Linked DNA regions of Homo sapiens: regions 1 and 2 are each linked to region 3. The links are contacts of gene promoters, found by promoter capture Hi-C in blood cells and fetal thymus (Javierre and others, 2016). All regions are on one chromosome and are shown on one strand. Each heading gives the region's core, a stretch centred on a gene start or on the middle of the fragment in contact. The rest is flanking DNA. Distances are from core to core; before and after follow the strand shown.

Evidence for each region. The method cuts DNA at HindIII sites, captures the fragments that hold promoters and counts their contacts. A CHiCAGO score of 5 or more calls a contact.
Region 1: a fragment that was not itself captured here is called in contact with the fragment with the promoter of PPIL6 in region 3 in 1 of 17 cell types (total CD4 T cells); the score reaches 5.1 in total CD4 T cells.
Region 2: a fragment that was not itself captured here is called in contact with the fragment with the promoter of PPIL6 in region 3 in 1 of 17 cell types (neutrophils); the score reaches 6.8 in neutrophils.

The regions. Positions count from the first base shown.
Region 1 is chr6:108,551,850-108,554,975 of GRCh38, forward strand. It overlaps LOC124901372 (a long non-coding RNA gene), which reads right to left. Exons shown (of 2, transcript XR_007059700.1): 2 at 1-1,518. Among named protein-coding and RNA genes, the nearest start is that of FOXO3, 7.5 kb to the right of the region's middle. The HindIII fragment of the contact is 5,724 bases long and covers 1-3,126 here.
Region 2 is chr6:110,049,675-110,052,610 of GRCh38, forward strand. No RefSeq gene overlaps it. Among named protein-coding and RNA genes, the nearest start is that of GPR6, 73 kb to the left of the region's middle. The HindIII fragment of the contact is 4,700 bases long and covers 1-2,936 here.
Region 3 is chr6:109,439,288-109,442,169 of GRCh38, forward strand. It overlaps PPIL6 (peptidylprolyl isomerase like 6), which reads right to left and starts at 1,341. Exons shown (of 8, transcript NM_173672.5): 1 at 1,169-1,341. The coding sequence starts at 1,303. SMPD2 (sphingomyelin phosphodiesterase 2) reads left to right here and starts at 1,437. Exons shown (of 10, transcript NM_003080.3): 1 at 1,437-1,884; 2 at 2,070-2,166; 3 at 2,265-2,341; 4 at 2,687-2,780. The coding sequence starts at 1,835. RefSeq lists silencers at 932-1,751, 1,393-1,598 and enhancers at 2,012-2,081, 2,242-2,321. The HindIII fragment of the contact is 7,598 bases long and covers 1-2,882 here.

The DNA.
Region 1 (3,126 bases), core at 416-2,915, 890 kb before region 3:
TCCCGGGTAGCTGGGAATATAGGCGCGTGCCACCACACCTGGCTAATTTTTCTATTTTAAGTAGAGACGGGGTTTCACTGTGTTGGCCAGGCTGGTCTCGAACTCCTGACCTCATGATCCGCTCGCCTGGGCCTCCGAAAGTGCTGGGATGACAGGCGTTAGCCACTGTGCCTGTCCCACATCAATGTTTTAAAGTAATTTGTATTTAAAGTTCCAATTACTAAGCATTTTGTTTATTTATGTATTTATTTTTGAGAGTCTTGCTCTGTCGCCCAGGCTGGAGTGCAGTGGCATGACCTCAGCTCACTGCATCCTCTGCCTCCCGGTTTCAAGTGATTCTCCTGCCTCAGCCTCCCGAGTAGCTGGGATTACAGGTGCGCACTACCACGCCCAGCTAATTTTTGTATTTTTAGTAGAGATGAGGCTTCACCATGTTGGCCAGGCTGGTCTCGAACTCCTGGCCTCAAGTGAACCTCCCGCCCCTGCCTCCCAAAATGCTGGGATTATAGGGGTGAGCCACTGCGCCCAGCCAGCATTTTAAATAGATTTTCTAACACATGGACATGGACACATGCTCACTTCACAAATTTTTGCAAGATGAGAAATGGAGTAGATGGACCACTTACAAAGCTCAATGCCATTTGCTGGAGGCCAGTCAGCCGGAAGCATTGCATTAATTTTGATTTTGTCTTCCTTTCCTCTAGAAGAGATTGATTAACATTTACAACAGGAGTTTTTACATTTACATTTTAAAAATGTAGTCACAACTCTCATTCTTACTGCTGGGTTTCAAAAAAAATTGAGTACTTTGTTTCTAACTTCCTTCAATTGACAAACGATAACATATAGTGTTTAGCCTGATCCCTGTGTCTTCAAGGACATAATATCTAGCTGGGAAGAAAAACAAAGAAGTATTTTGATTTCAAATCTACTCAGTTGTTTTTTATAGACTCTTGTTCCTTTCTTCTATTTTCAAACTTCCTTTTTGTTTAAACCTATTAAGTACACTTATTTTCTGTGTCAGCTTATTCTCATACCCCAGCCTTTGTGTATCTGACCTTACATTTTGTTTCTGTCTGCTCCTACATGGAGCCTTGCTTATTATATGTTTTGTGTTTTCTGATTATGATTATGGAAGTTCTTTGGGGCCTAGGCTCAAGATAGCCCTCCAAGAGGATGTGTCTTTCCTTCTGCCAGTTGTTAAAAGCACCACAAACTGGGGCTCATGAAGTTTTTAAAATAATTCCATGGTATCATGAATTTTGGTCATAATATTACATACGGACCACACCATAGTTGTGAATTTTCAAGGAAGAATATTTTTTATACTCTTTTATTCAGGGCTTTGATCAAGACAGACGATTTTTCCTGGGATCCTCTTCTGCAAAGCCAGTTAATTTCACATTCGCCTTTACTTTGGCCCTTTGGACTTCTGGTTTTAGGGGGGTAGAGTCTTCTTATTCTCCTGATCTTGGACAAGACTGAGGATTTATCTTCTGTGTCCCAGACTCTACACACCTGTCAAAGTAGAAGCTCAAATGTTGTCAGATTTTCTAGGAGTGTGCTCACTTCCCACCTTAACTTTGTTTTTGGTCTCTGTGGGTTTCTTCCTTTTTTGCCAGCTCAATAAAATCCATTTAAAAAATTTTTAAAAATCTTATCCAGCTTTAGTTTTCATCAGGAAGTTTGTTCTGGTTATTTGCTCCATTGTGTTAAATTGAAGTACTTTAAAAACAAGGTTAGATAATGTATAATCAGTTGCTAAGCAGAATCGACGTACAGTTTCTCCAGTGCTTCTGTTTCCTTTACTTTCTATTCAGAACAAATCTTCCTCCTCAGAATGCAAGACAGTGGCTGAGTGGAGTAGGGGCAATGGTGTGCTGGCAGACTGGCCCTCCGAAAGAAGAAAAGGAAGGAAAAAAAAAAGCAAGCAAGCCTTGATGGATTTGCCAATTTCTGTGATGTAAATACTCCCATAGTAGTCCATTTCAAACTACCAAGATGTGCACAGTCTTCTCTCATGAACTGGAGCGGGTCAATGCCACTATGAAGGTAAAAGATCCAAATCAGGGTGGCTAAGTCACCCAGAGATTGGTGGGGAGAGCCTGATGAGGAAGAGGTGAACTAACTAGAGCACATACCAGCTAACTGTTACCCTGTGGGTATAGTGCCAGTGTTACCATATCTTCCAATTTCTCAAGAAGAGCTAGAAATCCAAATTTTAGGTGAAATCTCTTCCTTTTAAATGTTGGCAACAGACTAAGAAACTTTTTTTTTTTTTTTAAGAGATGGAGTCTTTCTCTGTCATCCAAGCTGTAGTGCAGTGGCACAATCATATTTCACTGCAGCCTTGAATTCCTGGACTCAAGTGATCCTCCCACCTCAGCCTCCCAAGCACCTGGGGGACTACAGGTGCATGCCACCACACCTAGCTAATTTTAAAAGATTTTAGAGATGGGGGTCTTGCTATCTTGCTCAGGCTGGTCTTGAATTCCTGACCTCAAGAGATCAAAAATTTAAAAAACACCAGAGAGAACCAAAAACTAACCCTATTGGGGCAGATTTGGCCAGATAACCACTAGCTTTAGACAGGTTGGGGAAGTGTCTCGGGTTATGTTTGCTTATCTGGTTCCAGCCCCTTTTCTCCAGGCCAAAAGGCTCACATAAAGCCCCCTTTCTTTAGGCTCATTTTGGAGAGGCAGTGCAGTACTGGGGAAGAGGAGAATGCACCATGGACTCAGAATTCTCAGTTCGAATCCTAGGCCTGCCACTCACTGTGTGACCTGAGGCAAATCCTGGTAAAATGAGAGGGATGGTCCCTGCTGTGGTAGGTTGTTCTAGAAACAAACCGAGATGTTTTGTGTATGGAAGCTGCCCCCTGTGTGTAGTCAGTTCATGGCTCTGTCCTCATTCTAAGCAGGAACCAGAGAGTCAGAGCTGAAGGCAAACGCTGGCATGTGCAGCACAGAGACCTCTATCTCAGGGTTCTCAACCTTCACTGCCTTAGATTCACCTGGCAAATATTTAAAAACAACAACAACAACAATCAGTCAATGCCAGACCCTGACCTCAGAATTTCTAATTCAGTTGGTCCAAGGTGGAGCCTGGGCATGACTATTTTTAAAG
Region 2 (2,936 bases), core at 239-2,738, 610 kb after region 3:
TACAGAATATCAAAAGATGCATGAGATACATGTCAATTGCACATACCAAACACTGGCAGGGGAAGGAGGATCTGGTTCCCCCGACCGCAGAATGGGAAACCAGGCAGGAAGCTGCTGTTTACCAGGCATAGCACCAGGTCCTTTCACATCAATTGCATTATTTAATCCTCATAATAGCTTGTCAAGCCGGTGTGGTCACCACATCTTTATATGTGAGAAAACCAAGTCTCAGTGAGAGTACATTAAACCTAAGGTGTCATAGCTAGAGAATGGTAGTGCTGTCTAATGTCAAAGCTGCTGTTCTTTCCAACACATAATAATAATGGACTCGATACATCTTATGAGCTGCCTTAGACTATTTAAGCTCTAAATCCTTCCACCCTCCATTATCCATGTAACGTCTGCAGCCCCTGCATCAACTGACTCTGCCAGATGATTCCACAGTAGGGCATGGAGTCACTGACCAGCAGCCAGAGCTGAGACTCCATGCGCCCCTCCCAGACTTGGAAGAAGAGCCACACCACAATGCACGGGGGATGGATTCCTCAGCAGTTTCTAAAAGGGCCAGGTGATGCAACCCCAAAGTGTGGGATATGAAACTCCACAGGGGATGAACCTTGATCTGTTGGGGATAGGAGTCAGGAGGGATTCTGCAGATCAAGTCGCCTGCTATTCCTTCCTCTGGCCTGTCCAAAAGGCATCTCCTGGGGCCATCTGACAGGCTGTGTCTTCGTGAAGCCTTGGCCAGGTCAGCAGCGGGGCCCGGCATTTGCTTCCCATCCTTCCCTGCCTCACACTGGCTGCCCTACTATTGCACTTCATTAAAAAGCATTACTACTTCAACTTTGCCTCAGATTCTGTTTTCCAGGGAATCCAGATTAAGCCAAAAAGAACAGGAAACATTTAGATGGATTATCTCATTTAATACTCATGGCATCCAAATAAAGTGTTATTATCCCAGTTTTACAGATAAAGTAACTTGTGGTTAAAATCATACACACACATGAACAGTGCAACCGGCATCCAGACTCAAGCAGCCTGACTAGGTCCCACTCCTCTAACTCTGCAGCAGGGACCGGAGCCTGATTAGGTCCCACACCTCTAACTCTGCAGCAGGGACCGGTACACTCCTATCAGCCTCGTTCATCTGATCCTCTATATGCCTCACCTCTAGTAAATATTTCCTGTGGAAACAAATGCTAGATATACTCGACTATTCATTCTCTCTATCTTGTAAAAGAATACAACTTCAGGACACTAATAACATATTCCCAGCCTTCCTTGCAGCAAGGTACAGTCAATTAGTTCTGACTACTGCCATGTAAGAAGAAATGAGGTAAATGGCTTCCAAATGGTGCCTTCGAAGAGAAAGAGACAGCTTCCCCTTCTCTTCCCCTTCTCCCTTGGCTAGAATGCAGACATGGTAAGTGGAGTCGTTGCTGCTTAGACAATCAGATGGAACCCACATGTTGGGGATGGCTGTGGAATGAGATGAAAGAGCCTGGGTCTCCCACACCATTGAACCAGGATACCAGCCCTGGACTTCTAGGCTTGAACAGTTATGGAAGAGAAACCAACTTCTTTCTTGCTTTGTCCACTGCTGTTTTCGTCTTTGCTATAGCATCCGAACTTGCATCCTAATATACTTTTCAATAGGCAGTTAATTTTATGTGTCAACTTGACTGAGCCTTGGGATGCCCAGATTCAATATTATTTCGGGGTGTGTCTGTGGGGATGTTCCTGGATGAGACTGGCATTTGAACTGGTGGGCTCAGTAATCCCACAGTGGGGACTCCCCTCCCCAGTGTGGGTGGGCATCATCCATTGAGGGCCTGAATGGAGCAAAAGGCTGAGAAAAAAGGAATTCACCTATTTTTTTCTTCCTGCCTCTCTGCTTAAGCTGGGACATCTCATCTCATCTTCTCCTACCCTTAGACTGGGGCTTACACCTTGGCTCCCCTGTTTCTGTGACCTTTGGACTCAGACTGAATTACCTTTTCCTGGGCCTCCAGCTTGCAGATGGCAGATCAGAACCTCTCAGCCTCCATAATCACATGAGCCGCTTCCTCATTTTATATATATATATATATATATATATATATATATATATATATATATATCCCAGTGCTTAGCCTCCGTAATCATGTGAACCAGTTCTTTATTATATATAAATATCTATATCCTATTGGTTCTGTTTCTCTAACACAGACAGTAAGCACAAATGGTTAGGAACAGGGCTGCACAGTCAGACATCTGGGTTCAAACTCTGGAGGATGGCTCACATTCTTTCCTACTAGTTGCTATTCACCTTTGACAGCCACTTTCTAGACCTTCCTCAGGGACAATTTTCTCATTCATGTACCACACATATGCAGCGTAGCACAATGGCTGAGCCCAAGGACCCCGGACATTTAGGCTGAAATCCTAGTTCTGTATGTTCTAAGTATATGACCTCGGGCAGGTTACTTAACTTCCGTGTGCCTCCATTTCTTCATATGTAAATGAGAATACTAGTAGTGCCTCCCTCACAGGGTTTGGTGAAAGCAAGGGAAACCAGAGCCACCCACTATGTGAATCCAGAGCAGACCAGCTTCCTAAGGCTTAAGGGTCCCTGTCATAGGACGTGGTATGTGATAGGCATTTAACAAATGTTAGCTGGTGTCCTTGCTGCTGATTATTCTTCTTCCCATATGAGCCTTGTATATAACAGGTGTCAATCCTTTCAGAAGGATTGAATGAATAGATGCCTAAACCACATTCTGTGGAGTAGAAGTCACAAACACAAACCAGATACAAAGGTGAGGTGTTTTACCCCAGATTGGGTACTGTGTGAGATCACTGCCCAACAGAGGGAACATGGCTCTCCAGTCTGGCAACCGTCGCAAGCATCCCTCCAGTTTCAAATGGAAGGTTTCAGTGTTGTTCCTGCCAAATCC
Region 3 (2,882 bases), core at 91-2,590:
CAGACCACAATTTCTACTTTTGATGATTCATGTATTATTTTCACAGACTTCTGATCACTTGTTTTCTTTTTATTATTTATTTATTTTGAGACGGGGTCTGGCTCTGTCGCCCAGGCTGGAGGGCAATGGCGCGATCTCAGCTCTCTGCAAACTCCGCCTCCCGGGTTCAAGCGATTCTTGTGCCTCAGCCTCCTGAGTAGCTGGGATTACAGAGACCGCCACCACGCCCGGCTAATTTTTTGTATTTTTAGTAGAAACGGGGTTTCACCATGTTGGCCAGGCTGGTCTAGAACTCCGCCTCTGCCTCCCAAAGTGCTGAGATTATAGGCGTGAGTCACCGCGCCAAGATATCTTCTATTTGGGAACATTTTGTTGTCAAGTATCCAGCTGGGTACTTCGGGAGTTAAAAACATTAATTAAGGCATGGTCCTGGAGTCAAGTGAGCTTCGGCGAGAAGTTTGCCATGGACAGCATTTCTGGAGCAAACCCTGTAAGAAGGGCTGAATTCTACATGCCGACATTTCATACATTTCTCCTGCATTTCAGGTTGTAAGTGTGCTGCAGCATGACTGATCTGGCCAAATTCTTCCAGTTTCCTCAAGTGCTTTTCCTTTAGTATCGTTCTGAGTGTTTACAAAGAAATGATTTTCCAAAGCACTTGTGAAGCATCTAGTTCGATTGGAACGCAGTGACGGCTCTATAAAATTCAAAGAAAAGAATCTCCCCGCATGAATAGTTAACAAAAATCGCTTGGGCCGAGGTGGCGGGGTTGTAAAAATTAGCTAGTTATATAGTAATCATTTTTCCATAAATTTAAATATCTCTAATTAAAGAAAAAATTGACGTAGAACAAAATCTGCGGGTGTGTGTGTGTGTGTCTCGGAGGGGATTACCTTATCTCCCAGCGCGGTTCTGAACCCTTCCTTCGCTCAGTTCTCCCTTTAAAAGTCGCCAAGTGGAACGCCCGCCCCCGGACCCGCACTTGCCCCCCTATACTCTCCTCCCGGTCCTCCAGACGGAGCCCGCCCGGCCAGGACACGCCAGCCCCTTCCTCGGCCGGTGGGGCCTCGACCCCCGCCGCCTCGAGGAGGCGCGGCGCCTGCAGTCCACGCGGCCGAGAGCGGGTAGCGGGGAGGGCCGCCCACGACGGAGGTTTCTCTGTGGTTACCTCAGCGGCGCTCTTCGCAATCTGAAAGTTGGGGCAGCTGAAGAGCCCCACCACCTTCACCTGCAGCGGCCGCTCCGGCAGCGACGGCGAGCCGCACCTAGCGTGCGGGGGCCCGCACGGCTGCGGCCTTGCCATGGCCGCGCCCGGGGACGCCCGGTGACCCCAAACACTGCGCGTCGCTCCGGCAACCGCGCGGCCCCGCCTCCGCCGCTCGCAGGAGGCGGGGCCCAGGGGCGGGTCGAGGGCGGCCCGTGGCGGCTGGGCCTTTCCTCAACTTTGCGCCTGTTGCTGGGCCGCCGGCGCGCGGGCGGCCGCGACCGCCGGGGACGAGCTTGGAGGAAAAGGAACCGGGAGCCGCCCACCCGGGGGCGCTCTCCGGACCCCCAGGGTCCTAGCGCGCGGCCCTTACCGAGCCTGGGCGCCCGGATTTCGGCAGCGGATCGCCTTTCCGGGTTGGCGGCCCGCCTGATTGGGAACAGCCGGCCGGTTGCCGGGGGAACGCGGGAGTCGGGCCCGACCTGAGCCACGCGGGCTTGGTGCCCACCTGTGCGCGCCGCCTGCGAAGAAGGAACGGTCTGGGGAGAAGGCGCCGCCGGCCGCCCCCGTCCCCACCGCGGCCGTCGCTGGAGAGTTCGAGCCGCCTAGCGCCCCTGGAGCTCCCCAACCATGAAGCCCAACTTCTCCCTGCGACTGCGGATCTTCAACCTCAACTGCTGGTGAGTGCGTCTGCGGAGTGCGGTCTGGGGGCCACCTTCCGTTCGCACCCATGCAGCCTTCCTCCCCCTATCCCGCCCCACGATCTCAGGGTGTAGGGAAAACCCGAACCTCCAAAGTCCACATCTGGCCCCAGCGCCGGTGGTCCCAGCAGTCGCCTCCCCTGCCCCGCTCTTCCCTTCCTTAGGGGCATTCCGTACTTGAGCAAGCACCGGGCCGACCGCATGAGGCGCCTGGGAGACTTTCTGAACCAGGAGAGCTTCGACCTGGCTTTGCTGGAGGAGGTGAGATTGTGCAGCACGGTGCGGAACCCAGGCTGGGAGGAGGGACAGACCGTCCCACTGGGGAAAGACCAAGCAGGCATCCTCACCGCTTCCCTCAGGTGTGGAGTGAGCAGGACTTCCAGTACCTGAGACAGAAGCTGTCACCTACCTACCCAGCTGCACACCACTTCCGGAGGTGAGAAGCCCACTGGCCTGAAGCCTGTTGTCATCCCAGGAGGCTCTTGGCCCTGCCAGCCCTTCCCTATCCTGCCTGCACTCTCCAGTCTCCTCCAGCCTCCTCTCCCTCTGGATGTGAGAGAAGGAGAAGGGTGAACCAAGAAGGTCCTATGACTTCAGCCCATTTCAGCTTTGTTTTCTGGCTGCCCTATACTCCTCCAAAGGCTGTCGCCTTGGTTCTAGGGCTAGTCCCAGCAGTAGAAAAAGAAAAAAATAGCTGATCAGAGCTGGAAGACAAGGGAGGGGAAGAAGGCTGGGTGTCTCTCCCTGTTTTTCTGGTTATTAAGCAGGGCTTGGCTTTCAGCGGAATCATTGGCAGTGGCCTCTGTGTCTTCTCCAAACATCCAATCCAGGAGCTTACCCAGCACATCTACACTCTCAATGGCTACCCCTACATGGTAAGGCAGACCTTTGACCTCTTCCACCTCCCTTCCCCACCTCCAGTAATACAAGGTAGAGGAGGCAGCCCTCTGAGAGCTGCAGGGGATGGGCAGAAAGAT